Regions from separate parts of the Homo sapiens genome. Here all the other regions are linked to region 6. The links are contacts of gene promoters, found by promoter capture Hi-C in human tissues and cell types (Jung and others, 2019). All regions are on one chromosome and are shown on one strand. The core of a region is centred on a gene start or on the middle of the fragment in contact, and the rest is flanking DNA. Distances in the headings are between cores, read along the strand shown.

What was found. The method cuts DNA at HindIII sites, captures the fragments that hold promoters and counts their contacts. A contact is called where the count stands out against the background at its distance.
Region 1: a fragment that was not itself captured here is called in contact with the fragment with the promoter of GPR18 in region 6 in 3 of the 25 tissues and cell types used here (IMR-90 fibroblasts, lymphoblastoid cells and spleen).
Region 2: a fragment that was not itself captured here is called in contact with the fragment with the promoter of GPR18 in region 6 in 1 of the 25 tissues and cell types used here (spleen).
Region 3: a contact is called between a fragment that was not itself captured here and the fragment with the promoter of GPR18 in region 6, in 2 of the 25 tissues and cell types used here (IMR-90 fibroblasts and spleen).
Region 4: a fragment that was not itself captured here is called in contact with the fragment with the promoter of GPR18 in region 6 in 1 of the 25 tissues and cell types used here (dorsolateral prefrontal cortex).
Region 5: a contact is called between a fragment that was not itself captured here and the fragment with the promoter of GPR18 in region 6, in 1 of the 25 tissues and cell types used here (lymphoblastoid cells).
Region 7: a contact is called between a fragment that was not itself captured here and the fragment with the promoter of GPR18 in region 6, in 1 of the 25 tissues and cell types used here (hippocampus).

The regions. Positions count from the first base shown.
Region 1 is chr13:99,563,983-99,566,702 of GRCh38, reverse strand. It overlaps TM9SF2 (transmembrane 9 superfamily member 2), which reads right to left. Exons shown (of 17, transcript NM_004800.3): 17 at 2,655-2,720. Among named protein-coding and RNA genes, the nearest start is that of LINC01039, 12 kb to the left of the region's middle. The HindIII fragment of the contact is 8,417 bases long and covers 1-2,720 here.
Region 2 is chr13:99,617,297-99,620,048 of GRCh38, reverse strand. All of the region lies in intron 1 of CLYBL (citramalyl-CoA lyase), which reads right to left. Among named protein-coding and RNA genes, the nearest start is that of CLYBL, 12 kb to the right of the region's middle. The HindIII fragment of the contact is 4,667 bases long and covers 1-2,752 here.
Region 3 is chr13:99,588,832-99,591,531 of GRCh38, reverse strand. No RefSeq gene overlaps it. Among named protein-coding and RNA genes, the nearest start is that of LINC01039, 13 kb to the right of the region's middle. The HindIII fragment of the contact is 4,544 bases long and covers 1-2,700 here.
Region 4 is chr13:98,819,467-98,822,258 of GRCh38, reverse strand. All of the region lies in intron 45 of DOCK9 (dedicator of cytokinesis 9), which reads left to right. Among named protein-coding and RNA genes, the nearest start is that of DOCK9-AS1, 11 kb to the left of the region's middle. RefSeq lists an enhancer at 913-1,413. The HindIII fragment of the contact is 3,995 bases long and covers 1-2,792 here.
Region 5 is chr13:98,864,012-98,866,808 of GRCh38, reverse strand. All of the region lies in intron 30 of DOCK9 (dedicator of cytokinesis 9), which reads left to right. Among named protein-coding and RNA genes, the nearest start is that of DOCK9-AS1, 33 kb to the right of the region's middle. The HindIII fragment of the contact is 7,603 bases long and covers 1-2,797 here.
Region 6 is chr13:99,256,985-99,259,882 of GRCh38, reverse strand. It overlaps GPR18 (G protein-coupled receptor 18), which reads left to right and starts at 1,504. Exons shown (of 2, transcript NM_001098200.2): 1 at 1,504-1,729. The region is part of intron 4 of UBAC2 (UBA domain containing 2); the gene reads right to left. It overlaps LOC124903198 (a long non-coding RNA gene), which reads left to right. Exons shown (of 3, transcript XR_007063846.1): 3 at 1,297-1,444. The HindIII fragment of the contact is 6,968 bases long and covers 1-1,517 here.
Region 7 is chr13:98,915,943-98,918,753 of GRCh38, reverse strand. The region is part of intron 7 of DOCK9 (dedicator of cytokinesis 9); the gene reads left to right. Among named protein-coding and RNA genes, the nearest start is that of DOCK9, 61 kb to the left of the region's middle. The HindIII fragment of the contact is 4,018 bases long and covers 1-2,811 here.

The DNA.
Region 1 (2,720 bases), core at 24-2,523, 310 kb before region 6:
AAGCAGGTGCTGTGAGTGGAGATGGAGGCGCTGACTCTAAACACGAGAGTGAAACTGGACAGAGAACACCAAGTGAGAAGTAGGTCAAAGAGGGAAAGATGGAATAGGGCAGCAACTCCCGCTGGGGGCAGAAGTGGAGCCCCCAGAGGAGACTGACAGAGGCGGAATTGAGGGGAAGAGAAGTGGGTAAGCAGCGTCTCCTGTTTTAACGCACTTCTCCAGAACACGTGCAGGGCAAGCACATGTTTGTGACAATCTTCTTGCGATTCTATGAGGAAGGTTCAGACCCAGACTATGAGGAACACGGCTTTCAGGACAAGGTTTCCAAGAGAGACTGAGTGTCGTGTCAGTAAAGAGCTGGTAAAATTAGGGCTGGACCAGGTGGTGGGGGCGCTGAGGAGCTCGGCAACAAGGTTACCAGCAGAATCCTCGGAAAACAAGAAGCCGATGGCAAAGCCAGGTGGGAGAGGCAAGGAGAAGAGGGAGAAATCGGTCAGACGGGTTGTTTTCACTAAAAATGAAAAAAAAAAAAAAAAACAACAACTAGCAGAAAGTTGGACGTGTTTTAAAATGGAAAGCATGGAGAGGGAGGGTTTAAACACAGAAGGGAAAATAAAGAGGAAAGACTCTCGAACAGACAGGAAGAAGGCGGGGTGAGGCTGTAACTAGGTTCGAGGTGAAGGTACAGTTGGAGAAACTGTGGGAGACACCAAGGGGCTACGGCGCTGCCCGAAAGCTTGGGCGGCCTTCTTGATGTGCGGGGCAAGGAGGCAAATGCAGACAGAATGCCGCCCTTAGCCGGCGAGCAGGACGACCCTGCGGCACGGCTGGGTCTCTAGAAATGACCTGGGCAGATAGAAGGCATGGGAATGGCAAAAGGCCATTTCTCCAGCAGGAAAACACTGCAGTTACCTAGCTTCCCGGTCTTGGCTACACGTCCCCCTCCTTCGCAGCTGCCTGCGGCTATCATGACTCATGGAGGAGACTTCTCCCCGGGGTTCCTGGTCACTGGGGTCTCACAACATGCGCAACGCAACTGTTTCTGTCCCGGGCCACACTCAAGCTAAGGAGACGGACCCCTGCTTCTAACCGCCTGCCATGCTGAGGGACGCTTTCCTGGAGAACTTTCTGGGAAAGCCGCAGCAGCGCACCCCTCAGGACGGCGGGATCCAAGCCCTGGAGAGGGGTCTTTTCTCCACCGCCCTCCTCACTTGGCAGGCCTTCCTTGTCACTGTCTCCTTCCTCGGCTTTCCACCCTCCCTCCCTCCTAAGTCTTTTCCTTTATCACTCCAATTTCATTTTCCCAACTGCCTCTCCACTGTTTACGTGTGAAATACGGTTACTTAAATATATGAAGAAAAAGGCCGGACGCGGTGGCTCACGCCTGTAATCCCAGCACTTTGGGAGGCCGAGGTTGCGGCGGGGTGGGGGGGTGGATCACTTGAGGTCAGGAGTTCGAGACCAGCCTGGCCAACATGGTGAAACCCCGTATCTACTAAAAATACAAAAAATTAGCTGGGCGCAGTGGCGGGTGTCTATAATCCCAGCTGCTCCAGAGGCTGAGGCCGGAGAATCGCTCGAACCCACGAGGCGGAGGTTGCAGTGAACTGAGATAGTGCCATTGCACTCCAGCCTGGGCAACAAGAGTGAAACTCTGTCTCACAAACAAAACAAAACAAAACGAAGAAAAAGTTACACCAACTCTATCAGCTGACTTTTAAATCACTAAGCTAACTGTTCACTAAAGGAAAAATAAAATTGAAGAAACTTAACTTTGGCCAATAAAAACTAATCTGGTGTCTCAATCAGGATTTTTAAAAACTAAAACCTTCTCTTTGTTGAGTCAACCAGCCTATCTCAACAGCTCCCTAAGAGAATTACAGTTGGCCTTCCTTATCTGGGGGTTCTGCATATGCAGATTTAAGCAACAACAGATCAAAAATGCTCGAAAATAAATTTTAAAAAACCAATACAATAAAAATACAAATGGAAAATAGAGTATAACAAGTATTTACAGAGCACTTACATTGTATGAGGTATTGTGAGTAAACTAGAGATGATTTAAAGCACATGGGAGGATGTACATAGATTATTTGCAAATACTTGCCATTTTTATATCAAGGACTTGAGCATCCATGGATTTTTGGTAACCACAAGGGTTCTGGAACCAATCTCCCATAAATACTAAGGGACAACTCTACCCATAAAAAATAAATACAAGAGATACATAAAACTGAAAGAAACTCTTCTATCTTAAATATTCCATGTTAAAAATGAACAGAGCTCCTCCTTTACTCTTCAAAACCAACAGGTCCGTTTTTTTAAAAAAGGACAGTGACATAAAATTATTCAGTAAGGCTGGGCGCAGTGGCTCACACCTGTAATCCCAGCACTTTGGGAGGCCGAGGCGGGCAGATCACCTGAGGTCAGGAGTTTGAAACCAGTGTGACCAACATGGAGAAATGCCGTCTCTACTAAAAATACAAAATTAGCCGGGCGTGGTGGCACATGCCTGTAATCCCAGCTACTCAGGAGGCTGAGGCAGGAGAATTGCTTGAACCTGGGAGGCGGAGGTTGTGGTGAGCCGAGATCTCGCCATTGCACTCCAGCCTGGGCAACAAGAAGGAAACTCTGTCTCAAAAAAAAAAAAAAATTATTCAGTAAGAACCCAGCAATATCATATAAGTGACAGCTAGTAATTTTAGTTGTAAGTTTAATGA
Region 2 (2,752 bases), core at 79-2,578, 360 kb before region 6:
GCCGCCCCTTCTGAGGACCTAAAGGGTCAACACCACACAACCAAAAACATCTCCCTTAATGTCAGGAGAAGGCGGTAAAACCAATTGAGTGCAGGCTGTACCAATAAGTTTGGGGGAGGCAGAGCTTTTATCTTCAATCTCTGGTCAAATTGAGCTCAAATGGACCAAAATAACTTAGAGCTCAAAAAGCTATATACTTTTTATTTCTGAATTCCCCAAGGTCGTCTTACTTGAGGGCAATAATTCCTTTCTAGACTCTGGAATGTCAACTGGCAGGAAGAAACTTGTCCATCCTCCTTTTGATGGGTGAGAAAAATAAGGCACAATCTAGATAAGGGCCTTGAACAAGGTCAAGGGCCAACTGCGGGTCAGCATTGGACTTGAACCCCAGAGTATCTATCCAGGAGCTTCCTGCCTATAGCAGAGTTAGTAACTTGATTTTAAACTTGTTTTTGACAATTGTAAGAAAAAATTAAAGAGCACCTGAGGATATTAAAACAATTCTGATTTTTAGGAGCTAGAATAAGTTTCTATCTTAATATGAACTAAAAATATTTTCCTAAAAGTAGAAACCACCTGTCTTAGTCTGTTTATGCTGCTATTTTAAAAAGTATTACACACTGGGCTAATTTATAAACAACAGAAACTTACTTCCCACAGTTCTGGAGGCTGGGGAATCTAAGATCAAGGTGCCAGCCTTGGTGTCTACAGAGGGCTGCTCTCTGCTTCCAATATGGCGCCTTATTGCTGTGTCCTCACATGGCGCAGGGTGGAAGGGCAAGACTGGAAAACTCTCTCTGAAGCCTCTTTCCAATGATACTAACCCATTCATGAGGCACAGCCCTCATGACTTAACCACTTCCTACAAGGCCCCACTTCTTAATACCACCACAATGGGAATTAAGTTTCAACATGAATTTTGGAGGGGATACCACATTCAAACCATAGTACTACCCAGGAGTGATCTGTGACTGGCTAGTATAATTCAAAGAAATCCACTTTAGGCTTAAACTTAAACATCACATTTCTGTGCTCCACATAGAACATGCACTAACAATAGCCAAAAGGTGGCAGTGATACTCAAATGTCCATCAACAGATGGATGGATAAATAAAATATGGAATAGGCACACAATAGATTATTCAGCCTTAAAAATGAATGAAAATCAGATACCTGCTGTAACATGGATGCACCTTGGAAGATATTATGCTGAGTGAAATAAGCCAAACACAAAAGGACAAATATGTGAGTCTATGTATGTGAAGTACCTAGAGTAGTCAAATTCACAGTGAAAATAATGAGAATGGTGGTTACCAGGGGCTGGGTGGGGGGAAGGGAACAGGGAGTTAGTGTTTAATGGGCACAGGGTTTCAGTGTGGGAAGATAAAAAAGTTCTGAAGATGGATGGTGGTGACAGTTGTACAACAATGTGAATGTACTTAATGCCACTAAACTGTACACTTAAAGATGGTTAAAATGGGCCGGCCATGGTGGCTCACGCCTGTAATCCCAGCACTTTGGGAGGCCGAGGCGGGTAGATCACCTGAGGTCAGGAGTTCGAGACCAGCCTGGCCAACATGGTGAAACCCCGTCTCTACTAAAAATACAAAAAATTAGCCAGGCGTGGTGGCGGGCACCTGTAATCCCAGCTACTCGGAGGCAGAGGCAGGAGAGTTGCTTGAACCCAGGAGGCAGAGGTTGCAGTGAGTGAGATCGCACCACTGCACTCCAGCCTGGGGGCAGAGCTAGACTCCACCTCAAAAAAAAAAAAGTTAAAATGATAATTTTGTTATGTATAATTTACCAAAATAAAGAAAAAAAATCCACTAAATCTTTAGAAACACTCAAAATATTTCATTCCTAAATCTGTTCTTTTTTCCTTCTGCAAATTTATATCAGGCACTGCCAAGGATTGTTTTAGGTTCTGGATATATAGTAGCAATGGAATAAACCAAGTCCCTGCTCTCATGAATATCTGGGGGCTGGGGTAGGATACAGGCGGACAATAAACAAATAAGCATGTGATATGTCTGGTGGAAATGGGGCAATAGGAAAAAATGAAAACAGCAGTAAGGGGACAGGGTAGTGCAGAGGCTGCTTAGCGGGGTGGAGGCTATGTTGTACAGGGTGGTCAAGGAAGACCTCTCTGATTTGTGACATTTGAGCTGAGGCACAAAGGGACAGAGGGCTTCAGGCTGACGACACAGCCCAGAAGAGGAGGCCGGTGAGGCTGCAACAGGCTAGGGAGAGAGGAGGTCATAAGGAGGGCTGGAGCACAGAGCTACTTCTTCAGTTTCTCATAAACTTTTAAAGGGACCGTTTATAGGTCAGTATAGAAATATTTCCTCTACCATCCATGTGTCTTTCATTTGCCTTAAAATGAACAGAAAAAACTCTTACATCTTCTGAAAGGCGTTCGTGAGGGCAGCCTGCAGACTGCAGAGACTGCGTGCATCTCCCATTGCTAGAGCGGAGCGCCCTCCAGTGCCTCACTACGAAAACAGCACTTGGCATGGGGTTTTCTGTTTGCTGTTTTCATTTCCTAAACTTTTGTTTTTGGCCACAGAATAATGTGGGCATATCAACCTTCTCACAAAGAATACTGTGAGACTAAGTAAGAAGACAAGTCAAGTGTATGCTTTCAAACAAGCCTGCACTACTTCCAAAGTGGTACAAAGTATATGTGTGCAATGATGTTTTTAATGACCATATAAACTTTAAAAAGGTCCATAGAGAGGCCCTTATTAGGAAA
Region 3 (2,700 bases), core at 201-2,700, 330 kb before region 6:
CACTGAAACATATATTTAGGTAATACTGTAAAACCCATACACATGAGAATATTCAGATGTTTGTGGGAAAGAAAAGAAACAAAATATATATGGAAAAATACTAAAAACCAATCTACAGAAAGTGCCTATGTAAGCTGGGAAAATAAGTTCAGAGGTTTATGAAGTTAGTTTCCTTTAATTCAAACTTTTTTGCTCTGGTAAACTTTGAAAAATATTTTCACAGCATATATTCTTTATAAGAATACAGCTGGGAAATTCTTCCACTGTCATGCAGTCTTAAGCTTAAAGTTTGCAAAATATAGTTTTTGCTTCTTCTTTTTCTTCTTCTTCTTTATAAAAAGGCTTTTAATTCAACTTATTGACCCCAGTATTTTTGCTACATCCATTGCTAGGATCAAATCATTATACTTTTCAAAAGCGTTCCTTTAACCTGAGGTCAAACGAATGTGAAATAGGAGGAAGTTATAAAAAGACTGAAATCTAGAACACCCATAACCCTGATGTACTTTATCCAAATTTTTATGACTTTGAAGTGCACTGAATACAGAAAGAATGCAGAGCTTTTATTTTCCAACCAGAGAAACCACACACAAAAAAAGAATAAAAAAGTATTTCTTTCTCATTTCTGTAGCCAACCTCTCAATCCAAAAAAAGGAAGTGGGGGAGGATCCAAGTCAAGCCAACAAAAATAAACTGTTGCCATTGTTTATAGAGAAAATAATTCCTAGAGATATTTTTCCCCAAAAAGCCAAAAAAAAAAAAAATCACAAAGAGACTCCCTGGCTCAGTTTATTTGCTAGAGGAGAAATTGTTTAACATTTGCTTATTTTGTAAAAACTACCAATAACAAGTGGGCCCAGAAAATCCCTCCCTCTTCCTCGTGTGGTGGGAAAGCAGAGACCAGGCGAAACTGGGCCTACTGTTGGAACATTGCTCACTGTCTGGAACTGCCCAATCCTGCCCGGCTTCTGTAAGATTCCCAAGATCCATGACAACCTGAAGTCCCCAAGGGAGGGGTTTGAGTTGGATGGATGTGGCGAGGCCAGACAATGGTCAGCCTTGACTTTCCCTGTGGTGGATTGGATTGAACGCTCCAATTCTTGCCTCTTGTCTGCCTCCACATCCTTGTCACGATCTCATTGTGGGAAGAATATACCTTTTTTGTCCCTTAACTTTGAGCTCTGCCAGTGACTGTGTGCCATCTCCAGCTGCAGCCTTGCCCTCTTGCCCTGCAGCCATCGCTGTGAGAAGAGCACATCCTAGCAGAACCCGTGATGGAGAGGAGGTTGCCCTGCAGTGAAACAGAGCTGCCCCAGCTGCCCAGCCTGCTGTGGAGCCTGCAGCCCAGCCCAGCCCAGGTCAGCGAAACTACAGCAGACTCACGAAGGCATCAGCAGTAGTAAATACCTATTGTGTTAAGCCCCTGAGTTCTGGAATGCTCCACATTGCTGCATTGTTTGGTAATACAAATGAATACATACTTTCAAGTAAATATAATAATATATTATTATTATTATTCTGAGATGGAGTCTCACTCTGTCACCCAGGCTGGAGTGCAGTGGCACCATCTCAGCTCACTGCAACCTCCACCTCCCAGGTTCAAGCGATCCTCCAGCCTCTGCCTCCCAAGTTGCTGGGATTACAAGCACATGCCACCGTAACTAGCTAATATGGGTATTTTTAGTAGAGACAGGGTTTCGCCATGTTGGCCAGGCTGGTCTCGAATTCCTGACCTCAAGTGATCCACCCGCTTTGGCCACCCAAAGTGCTGGGATTGCAGCAGTGAGCCACTGCACCTGGCCAGTTCTTTTAACACTTGTACTGTAGGGAGTTTAATATGTGGCTATGTATAGGATAGACTGAAGTAGGGAACAGATAGGATCATGATCCAGATGTCAGGTAATGAACCCACAAACAAGTGTGGAGATTGTGGATTTGGGAAAGAACGGGAAGAGGAAAGAGATAGACAAAAGGTTGGCTGCAAGAAAGAAGGAAAAGGCTAAATTTTCACACTTGGGAGAAGAAGGAAATGGTGATAACTTTTGGAGAATTTGAACTTTGGAGATGATTTTAGGAAAAATAATAAGTTTAGTTTGTGCCATCCCGGGTTTGAAGTGACAACAATTTAATCTAATGGTAGTGTGGTGTAGTGGAAAGGGCTGTAGTTTTCAAATAGACCTGGCTGCTGATTCTGGCTTGACATCTTACAGGGTGAGGGGCTTTTCTGAGTAACTTAAACTCTCTAAGCCTCAGTGTCTACCCCTGTATCAGCCCTCAGGATTGTGAGGACTGTGTAGGTGGGTAGTGAGGTAGGCATCGGTGGGCATTTGGTCTTCTTAGCATCTTTCCTGTTGAGAATGCCACTCTGCTGGTTGGTGGGTCTGTAATTTACATGACCAACTTCTGTGCCACCATGACGGATCCAGGCATGGGCACATGACCCAACCAGCCAATCAGAGTCCATTTTGGGGAGATGGATATGAATGTTTGGTGAGAAAGGGGTCTTTTCTTCTGCTATCAAGAGTAGTAAGATCACGGTAAGCCTGATAGTATTATCTTCTAGGCTGCTCTGGGGAGAGAGATTGCCTGAGAATGAAGCTCACACAGAGAAAATCAAAGATGAGAAATGGAGAAAGAGAGGAGAGGGAGACCCTTATTGATATTGTTTGAACTCTTTGATCAAATAGTGTCATTCATTGA
Region 4 (2,792 bases), core at 20-2,519, 440 kb after region 6:
AGTAATAACTAAGCCTGTGACAAGGACCCCTTTATCAGCTATTTTCAGAAGACGGATTCGTCACCTTGTCCTTGAAGCATAAACTTAGTAAATCTTTAACAAGGTCCATAGTACATGACAATCTGTGGTGATTAGGATGTGACACAGCAGGGTTATAAAGTCCTGAGCAAGCCTTGCACATCCAGATTGAAACTAACGGGAAGCAGAAAGACTAACATGTTCTAAAAGACAGGAAAGCAGAAATTACCAGGCACGTTTTTGCATTGGCTGCCAGGATGTTGCAAGAAAAAGAGAGATGAAAATCTCTGCCAGAGAGGAAGGACTTTGGGGAAAATCTGGTGGGAGATAAGTGTATAACACAGTTGAATAAAAATCATTGCCCTTTTCATCTACATTATTAGATATAATTAAATGCCTGAGATGTTCTCTAAAGTGACTTTAAGGGACGCTACCTAAAAATACTCAATTCTCTTAGCAGCAGGTCTCAGATGAGTTTTTATTGGCACCAATTCCACCTTCCTTGATTCTGAGCCGAAGAGCAGACTCCTTTCCAGCTGCTTTTGATTAATAAAGAGAAACCTCCAATTCCTATTCACAATTTTGTTTTGCAAGACTGAGCCTGTGTAGATTGAAGAATTCAGAGTTTCCTGTGGTGTCAAAATTCCCCATGGCCCATGTAGTTCTGAGATCCCTCCCTTGTTAACGAATGCAGTACCAAGGTCCTGGAAGGATGCAGGTAGCATAGTTGGGAGATTGAAGAAAGTCTAAGAAAGGAACTGTTTTTAAAAGTTCAGAGAGGGTTTAGGGAAGCCAACAAGGGATGTTGCAGTGCCCCGAGGTTAGCAGCAGCTGGGCGTCACCCCTTAACCTTAGGGAGAAAGGGAGAAATTACATAGAAGGACCACCTGGCAGGACCTGTGAGCTTTTTAGTAAAGGACTCCTGAGGGCACCCACGCAGGGAGGAAAGGAGTAACTGCCCACCTCACTCTCCTCCTGCCCCCCAGCCTCCTACTGGGGCCTATCCTTGGCCAAACTCAACAGCAACCAGACAGGAAGTCACCATGCACGAGTCCTGCAGTGTCTGCTTCTCAGAGCAGAGCCCAGGAGAACAGGGCCCAGAGGAGCTCCAGAGGGAAAAGTAGAAAGTACAGGTGATCCTCATTATCCACCTATCTGCTGAAATTTCTTTGTAGCCTCCAAATCAATACTCCTTGGTACTTTTGTGGTCATTCAGGGATATGTACAGAGCATCAAAAGATTTTACCACTCAACTATGTTTCCAGCTGAGGCCGAACCAGGCAACACTCTGCTTCTTGTTGCAGCTCTCATCCCATTGTCAGAGGTGTTCAAACCAGACTGACTCCATCTTGAGTGAGGGCTAGGAAAATGAGGCTGGGACTTGCTGGGCTGCCTTCCCAGAAGGTCAGGCATTCTGAGCCTCTAGATGTTTATGGTTAAGGGATCAAATTAATAATGTTTACTAGACAGACCCAGACTTGAGAGTGTCTAGATATCTCAATATCTGGAGAAGAAAGGCGTTCCTGATTTTTCTTTAAAGCTAATAATATCGATTTTTGCAAAATACAGTAATTAAGAAAATTAATCCTTTATCACAGATCCTCATAGCAGAGCACATCTCCCCATATATACGAGTAATGTACCTGGGATGGATGTGTTCCTCCTCTTACTTTCAGGAACAGCCTCCTCTGTCTATGGAGTAGCTGTACTTTGACCACTTTTTACTTTCTTAATAAACTTGCTTTTACTTTGCACTGTGGACTTGCCCTGAATTCTTTCTTACACTAGGTCCAAGAACCCTCTCTTGGGATCTGGATTGGGACCCCTTTCCTGTAACACCATGAACAGGCCCCCTTTTGGTGGTCTACTTTATGCCATGTTTTTCACATTTGTGTGGATTTTGTTGGCGGTTTGCTGTTTAGAATGGCTTTCTGGGGTTCCTAAGTGCAAGAACACTGCCATGTGTAAGTTACATAAGCTTTGTTCAAGTGTGAGTTCTAGTGCTGTTGGCTATATATTTAATGTTAATGAATCAACAATATATATTTAGTTAGATGTCTTTAAACAAAACACATAAAACAAGTGTAGGTATTGATTGGTTAATGAAAATGTTGTAACCAGAGGCTCCCAGGAACTGAACCTTGCATTTTCCCTAGGAAGCGGACAAGTATTCACTAATTCACAGTGACTTTATAGAACATAACTACCTCAGATGACGAGAACTGACTGTATCTAGCACACAAAACTGTTGTTTTACAGAACAGCAGGTCTTGCCATTGCAGAATTGCTGCTGAATGTAATAAACATTATATGAACTTAACTAGGCCAGTCTCTGGCTTCTATTCGTCAAAATTGTTTCTATTCAGGAATAGTTGCCAGTAAGAAGCATTAAGTGTTTATATCCATAGACTATCCCAGGAGATAGAGACATCAACAGAACATATTCAGGGATTACTGTTTACGTCTCATCCAAGCGTGGTGGTTAAACCTTTAGAGCTAGCTCATGTCCACTTTACCCTTGACTGACAGTGGTCCTGGAGCCGTGAAAGTCACATGGCACATCCTCAGTGTTACAGCGATTCTCCACAACAGTAGTGGCAGTGAGTAGGGAACTTGGCCAGTGGAGTTTGGGTGGCTGTTCTGCCTTTGCCGGATGCCAGCACATACTGCCCTACTTCATTTTGCAAATGTGGACTGGGCTTCCTTGGCACTGAGCTGGGGGCCAGAGGTCTGAGAGTGAGTAAGCTGTGATCCCTGCCATAGCACACTACACT
Region 5 (2,797 bases), core at 241-2,740, 390 kb after region 6:
ACAAACATCCCTGCTTCACCCCCAAAATTCATTATTCTACTATTTTCATAGCCCTTGTCCATAGTGGTGGCAGTAATCAAAATCACAAGCAATGTGGCTTTTTTACATGCTTTTAATGTTTGTATGTTGAGTCTTTATTAATGTCCTGTATTCTTTTTACGTTTGAAGAGAGTTGAGCTCATAGGGATGTCTTTGTCTTCACTGAGTAAATCAAATTGAACAAATTAGTCTGTCAGGTCTGTCAAGCAATAGCTCTTGAGCTTAATTCCTTGTATGTACTCAGGTATTTTGTGCTAAGGGAGAGAAAAAGTGGAAGGATGCCACCAAACTGCTAATGGCACCTGAATCAACTGCTTCTGAATTCCGAGAGAAACACACTAAGGCATTCATTCAGTCTGTTTCCCCCAAACAGACTGGTACTGCCTTTTAAGGATCAGGCAGGGGGACTGTGGCCCTGGAGTTGGCATTCATGCATTCAACAAATATTTACCCCGCACCAACTGTGTCGAGCTTCAGAATAAGTTGTGTACAACCTGGATGACAATCCCCGGCTATTCTACATACACCTGGATGACAATCCCCGGCTATTCTACATACACAAGATACATAGAATGTCAGACACTGATGCATCCTAAGGAGAACAAACAAAGCAAGGAAAGGGGATATGAAAAGGGGTGACATTTGAGACAGGGTGGCCAGATAACAGTTGGAAGAAAGTGAGGGGTGAGCCAAGCACCCGCATATCTGGGGGAGACTTTTTCTGGGCTGAGAGAACAGATAGGTATTCAGTGTCCCCTGATCTAACCCTGGCCCCCCACCTCTGTGGTCTCACACCCCCCTATTCTGCACATTCCAGGCATCCCTGCCAACTCCCAGCTCCTCAAACATATCATGCCACCCCTCCACCTCAAATAGCCCCCTCCCTGGGGAATCCTCATCTTCCTCCCCAAGCCAGCCACTCCACACCTCCTGCATGGGGCCTCCCAGGGTCTCCTCACTCTCTTCCACTTCCTCAACTGGAATTAACCACTCTTTCCTGCCCTGTGCCCCCAACCTCACCACAGCCTCCCTCAGCCCAGTCTCCTGTACCTGGGGACTCTCCTTCCTTCCACCTGGTACAGAGCCCAGGGAGCTCTTTTTGCCCAGTGGCTGTGTAGTGAATGTGTGCTGATGCCCATCTCCCCATGACCCAGCAGGGCAGCACAAGCTCTTATAGACTTCTAGGGTATTTGGTAGCAAGACGGGCTTCGCTCAGTCGATGGGGGGATATATGGGAGTAATTTGCCTTACTACACTGACAGGAATAAATGTTTTTTAGAATTTTCATTTTCTTTCTTCTCACTTACCTCCCACCCCTGCCTTCACCTCCTTTCTTGTGTTAGTCTATTCGTGTGCTATAAAGGAATACATGAGACTGGGTAATTTATAAAGAAAAGAGGGCCAGTGCAGTGGCTCGCACTTACAATCCCAGCACTTTGGGAGGCTGAACTGGGAGGATCACTTGAGCCTAGGAGTTCGAGATCATCCTGGGAAGCATAACAAAACCCTGTCTCTACAAAAAAACAGAAACAAAAATTAGCCTGATGTGTTGGTACACATCTGTAGCCTCAGCTACATGGGAGGCTGAGGTGGGAGGATGACTTAAGCCCAGGAGGCAGAGATTGCAGTGAAATCTGCAATCTAGGCAGATTATGCCACGGCACTCCAGCCTGAGCAACAGAGCAAGACCCTCTCTCAAAAAAAATAAGAAAAGACATTTATTTTGGCTCACAGTTTTGCAGTTTGTACAAGAAGCATGGCGCCAACATTGGCTTCTGGTGAGGCCTCAGGAAGCTTCCAATCATGGTGGAGGGCAAGGGGGGAGCCAGCATGTCACATGGCGAGAGAGGGAGCAAGAGACGAGGAGTGAGGCGCCACACTCTCGTAAACAACCAGATCTCGCATGAACTCAAAGCGAGAACTCACTCATTATGGCAAGGAGGGCACCAAGCCATTCATGAGGGATTCGCCCCCATGACCCAAACACCTCCCACCAGGCCCCACCTCCAACACTGGGGATCACATTTCAACATGAGATTCAGAGGGGACACACATCCAGACCATGTAATTTCTCATGCACATTCATACACACAACCATAGATGTGTGAGCACACTCCCAGTTAAACCATAAGTAGTTTCTTCCAAGAGACATGTGAACTCAAGCTATGACTTATAGTTTTGATAAACTAGGTGAAATAATCATAAACAATGAACATAATCTAGAAAATGAATACTCTCCCCCTTCTATTAAAGGGTTTCATAGAACTTGGGCCCATATTTTGGCTAGATTTAGGAGTAACTGTCTGATAGGGGACAAAAGGCAAAGGGAGAGGTCTATAGACTTTCCTTTAATAATGGAGTCAGTCTGACAATTCACAACCTAGCTTCAGCTTCCTGAAATTGTATTTTATCTTCAGAGTGATGTTTAGCTGTTTTTATGTACCCTTCCTAAGTAGAGTTCATGTTTGCTCCTATCTGTTTTCCAGAAGAGCTCTCAGTTTTGTCATTTAGCTTGCTGGTGATTTACCAGTTTGGTTTGATGCTTTGTCCACTTCAATTTTAGTTTATATTAAATTTGTATTTGTTTTCAGAGGTGGAGAAATATTAGGAGAATAGCTTAGGAAATACTGCATTAAATAAGTTCTTCATTCAGGGATAGCAGAATAAGTAGGTTATATATTAATTTGTTTATCTTAAATCCACTGGGTTTTAATGGAGTATATAGACATTAATGACCAGGAAAGGAATATATGAACTC
Region 6 (2,898 bases), core at 255-2,754:
ACCGTGAAGAATTCAAGTCTTGATGAAAGGACTCTTCTAGACACATGCCATCAATGTATCTGTTGATTTTAGCAGCAATGGGGAAGCTAATCAATACTTAATTTTAGAAAAGTCCTAAGCTATGTGAATAAGGCAAAGGACAGATTAGGTCTGCATGCAGGCAGATTTCTGTCCAGCTGAAACATCAAACTCCTGTGTGATGAATGAAATATAACATCACATATAAAAAACTGATGAATGTGATTCAGCCATAAGAAGTCCTATCTAGTGGACAGATCAATATAATTACCTCATAAGAAGTTATTACAGCGGGAGAAACTGGACCTGGCTTTACCTTGAGTTCTTAAGCAAGTAACTGGCCTTCAATTTCTTCATCCACACAAGAAATAGTTGCTATGGTTGTCTCCAACACTTCTAAAACCCATCATTCTGGCAGGTTGTAACAATCAAAAGTATTTTATCACCAAAGGCAAGGATTTAAGTAACTTTTCTAAGCCACAGATTTACTATGGTTTTGTCTGAGAAAAAAAAAAAAAAGGATGGACCCCAAACTGTCTAAAATTCAAAAAAACAAATACATTTAAGTTCATGAACCCTTTAAAAAGTTGACAAACCATGCATAACCAAACATAAAGATAATTAAAATTTTAGGATAAGCAAATGAGAGATAATTTTTTTTAAGAAATGAGAAAGTAAAACAAAATTAACCTAACAAGGCAGGCAGCGATTCGTTGCTCACTTCCCTTTCTGCTGGTTTCATTTCCCTTCTTAGGTGAAAACACTCTTAATATGTAAATCAGTCCACTAAAGACTTCAGAGTCCTTTCTGCTAAGATTTGCAGAAATTTTTATGCAAAAGAAATTATTTCTAGACTTCCACGCACTAGAAAAGCAGACTTACAAAATACAGCAAACTAAAGTGGATAAATGTATGTGGCAAAGCAGAAGCAATTAATCAAGGATCCTACTTTTAAGCATTTAGAAATGTTTAAATAGTAAAAAGTGGAAATGTGGATATTCTATGATTTTTAATAACTTGGTAGTAAAAAGTGAGACTCCATTTAGGAGTACCTACTAAGTGCCAGGTACTATTAAGCACTTGGGATCTTTCTGGTTTAGGGCCCCTACAATCCTACTGGATATAGTATTATCTCTATTTCAACTGTACAGAAATGAAGTAGGAACAAAGGGTTAGTCAGAGTGGGTAGGTAACTAGACAAAGTCACATAGCTTATAAAGCAAAGAAGCTAGACTTTAAACCCCCTTTTACTCAATATCAAATCTTCTCTTTCCATAGATGATGCAGACTTCAAGCATCAAAGTACACAAACTGAAGAAACTTTATCCTTTGTATATAATTATCTTAAATATATGCCATCATTTCAAGGGGAGCTTATGCTAAGTGTGACTTCATAAACAAATCATTTGTGAAAGAGAAAAACCACATCCAGGGTAAAGTCATAAGGTGAAAAAGCCTATTTCAGAGAGCACTTCCTGAAAGAGACAAAGCAGCAATTAAAGTCAGCCCAGCACCAACTCCGACGCCAAGCGTTACACTGGAAACTACTTTTTAAAGCAACAAAAGAGTCTAAAACAAAATACAACATTTCTTAAATACACTGTTTCCAGAAAGAGCTATTTTAACAGAAGCAACTCAAAGATATCCCTTCGACAGAAGTGGAAGTGCTGAAAAATGCTCATCTCTCACACAGACTTTTGATGGACAGGAGGTAAGCAGCATTTAATTAACTTCATGATTATTGTCAAAAGTAATGCTTTATGTACTGCATTTCAAAAATCATTTCATTTTAATAATACAGGCTGGGCGCAATGGCCCACGCCTGTAACTCCAACACTTTGGGAGGCCAAGGCAGGAGGATCAGTTGTGCCCAGGAGCACCATAGTGAGACCCCGTCTCTATTAAAAAAATATATTTAATTAAAAAAATAAACATAACAAACTATGTTGGTGAAAGACCTTGAAATAGGCTATATAATCATCTTTCCACATTAATATGATTTTACATTTATTTTCAATATTGCTTTACATTAATACTAAATGTAATTTTTTTCAACTTAAGGAAAGAAAATGTTTATGGTAAATCATATGTATATTTAGGAATGTTCATCACATGTTTTCAATTACATTGTTTCATGAAATAACTTAATGGTTTTTAAGAAAAGAAAAGCTACAGATAATCATGGTATCTATAGCTTTTAAAAAGCTGACTTTAAAGTCAATCACTTTTCAATATTTATCCAAAAATTTCTGTGTTTGCAGAGCACAATCAATACTATAATGCCTTTAAAACACATGCATCACTCATTTTTTTTCAAACGTCAGCAAATGAATATAAGTATTGGTGACAAGCTACATAAAAACAGCTTGAGCATAACGTGGGAAAAAAGACTCAAGATGGTTTGTAAGTACAGGACTTATGTCACAAAATTGAAGGATGAGGATAGGTGAAGGGAGTCCTGATGCAATACTAAAAAAAGAAAAACAAATACAAAATTTCATTTATATTATAATTGCTACTATTTAATAAGAATGCATTCCAGTTAAAAATAAGATTTAAGCCTCCAAGATTACTCTCCTTTGAATGACACTAGAGATATAATTTTTCTCTGTAGCACTTTCCTCATTTGATAGAAATTAATATTCTAGTCACACCAATATTTGGAAAATTTAATATGTTTTTAAATATATAGAATTATGCTCCTAAATCATATTTAACCTAAATATTTGAGAAGGAAAGAAGGAGAAGAAGGGAAGAAAGGGAAGGGAAGGGAAGGGAAAGGAAGGAAGGCAGACAGGCACGTTTCTTGTGTTTAACCACAGCAATTGCTCAAGTTAATTCTTAATTATCAATAGCCCGTGATGCCACTGACCACAGACA
Region 7 (2,811 bases), core at 90-2,589, 340 kb after region 6:
GAATTGTGTGTGAGATGTTAATTTTTTGAGAATTAGGGTATCTGTTCATATCTTAATTTTTGCATTCATGCTTGACTCATAGTTTGGCTAGTTATAAAATTCAAAGTGAAATCATTTTACCTTGGAATTTCAAGGGCATCCCATTGCCATCTAGTTTCCACTGTCGTTTGGAAGGTTCTGATGTTATTCGAAATCCCTGTTCTTTGTGGTCTTCTCTTTAGTGTTCTAAAATTTTGGTTGTTGTGTCTTGATTTTTATTTTATGCTTTGGTAAGCTTTTTTGTTAAGTTATAACATATAAATAGAAAATAAGGTATAACATATAAATAGAAAATATATGCCTAATGCATGTGTGACTCGGTGGATCTTTCTGGAGCTCGGCTCTTTCTTATCTTTGTGCTGTTTTATTTCCCGTCATTCTGGAGACTCTGCCCTGCATATTCTGGCCACCTTGGTCTTCCCCAGGTCTCGTCAGTGTCTTCTACTCAGCAAGATGGCAGGGCTCTTTTTGGATTCCCCTTCCTGTGCTGCAATTCAGATACTGCCTCCAGGCAGAAAGCTGAGGCAATTTGGGGCTCACTTCAGTCTTTCCCTTCTACAGAGAAAGGGCTGCACTGCCTTTTGTCCCCTATCTGAAAACAGTTATTTCATGTATTTTGTCCACTTTTCTAGCAATGATGGTGGGAGGCTAAGTCCAGATCCTGTTTCTTCCTTATGGTCAGCAGTGGAAGGGAGGGGTCCAGAATCAGATGTCTGCAGGGACCAAGGAGGTCAATTAAGTGACAGAGAGGCCTGGTTGCAAAGCAATAGGGAATGCCGGGGTGACCTGGAGCCCAGTGCCCCATTTAAAGGGGGCATCTCCTGCCCACCTGCAGCTGGTGCCGCCAGGTGGAACCCCCGGCTCAAAGGTGCCAGATCATCTGGTTTCTCAAAAAGCAAGAAATACAGAATTTGAGTTAAACTTTGGTAACTTTAGTTATTGGTAACTAACTTTAAAAACCACTTTGAAAAATAAATAAAAAACACCAACAGGTAATTTGAGAGGATACAAAAAGCAAACAAACAAAATACCACTGTGCAGTACCCCCGCCCTGCCGAAAAAAAAAAAAAGAAAAAAAAAGGTAAAATACATGAAAGTATATTTGGGCCCACGTTCAAGACTGTAGCACCACTTAATGCTCACTGAAAATTGTTTTCAGTCAACAGCTAATGTGGATGTCTCTTAGCTGGCAATTCAGCCTTCTCTGAAGGCCACCACTATGAACAATCTAATTATATCAGAGTATGTTCATTGACAATGTCTGTGAAGTAAGGAGTGCCAGAGTGATTTATCAGTGACAGTGAATTGACTTCTTGGGTGGGATTCCCAAGTAGGAGTTTTATTTGTATTCTTTAGTCAAAAGACCTTTAAGTTACTTTTTAGCTGAATTTTCTGGCACTGACTTTAAAAAGAAGGTTAAAGCAAAACTAAATGTATTTGGCAACCTCATTTTTTAAAGTAGGAAGTAATTATTTTTGTTTTATAAGAGAGTTTTGCTGCCTGTTTCTGGCCCAGGGACAGATGTTTATAAGTACAACTGCCCTGAGCTATCAATTAGTCTCCGGGGTGCATTTCAAAATCTAAGGTTCTGACTTCAATGGAAGTCTCTTCCTTCAAATTGTCTTTGCAGATGCAGCTGATGGTGTTTTCATTTAATAAAGTGTATCCAAGGCTTCAAAAGAGTAAAATAATTTGTTTTTATCTGTGTCTGTTTGTAAACTAAGCATCAAAAGTTGTGATTTAAGTGTTTTTAAAAATTATTACTTATGGATATTATAAAAAAATTAGTTGACTGGTGCTGTGAATTAAAAAAAGTGCCTAAACTAAAAAATTTTGAAGCATTTTAGAACCCTTGAAATTTATTATACTTATTTTGCAGATGAGAAAACTGAGGCTCAGAAACAGAAATTTAGAATTGAGGCCTAATGTTTTTTTCTCCACTTTTAACTTTCTCTTTTCATGATTGTGAGTATGCAGGGAAAGGAGGAGAGAAAATTCATTTTGTTTCAAGCCTTTGACTTCTTCCCTGGTTCTTGCCTTGAAGTTTAAGTGGAATCCAAAGTGGCAATTACTGAGCCCACAGCAGACAGTCTGTGCACAAGAGTGTGTGGCTTTGCCAAGGGGAGCACTTGACTTTGCATTTCTAAGAACTGTGCTGCAGAATCACAGAGACTTTTGGGAGGGTTGCCCTGTCCCTGAGACCTCCACCAAGGAACTCTTAGAGAGAGTGTGGATAACCCAGTAGGATTTTAGTGGCTATGCGGGGGGCTGTCCTGCTGGCTCAGGTTAGTGGGAGTGTTTGATTTCATATCGCTCAGCCTGTCCTTACAGGGGATCTTGTGCCATGATCCTCAGAGCTGAACCTCTGTCTACTGCGGCCAACCTGGGGAGATTTTGCTCCCTGGAGGACATCTTGGAATGTCTGAAGACTGGCATCTATTGGCTTAAGGCCATAAATTTCGCTAAACATTGTACAATGCATGGACCAGCCACTCACAACAAAGAATTGGCTGCCCAAGTGTCAGTAGTACCGAGATTGAGAAATCCTGGCCTAGTGCATGTTCATCTTCCGTCTGTTACTGCACATGGACTACTGTTCTTGTTCTGTGAGCCAGTCACCCTCTTGCAGGCATGAAAACTGGAGGCATGAGGCAAGGCCACGGACAGGGAGTCCAAATACCTTTTGGGATTCATAAAGGATGGGAAAGTTCCAGATAAGTAAGCCAAACATAGTAATAGATAATGGTTGGCTTTTAAAAATGTAATACCATA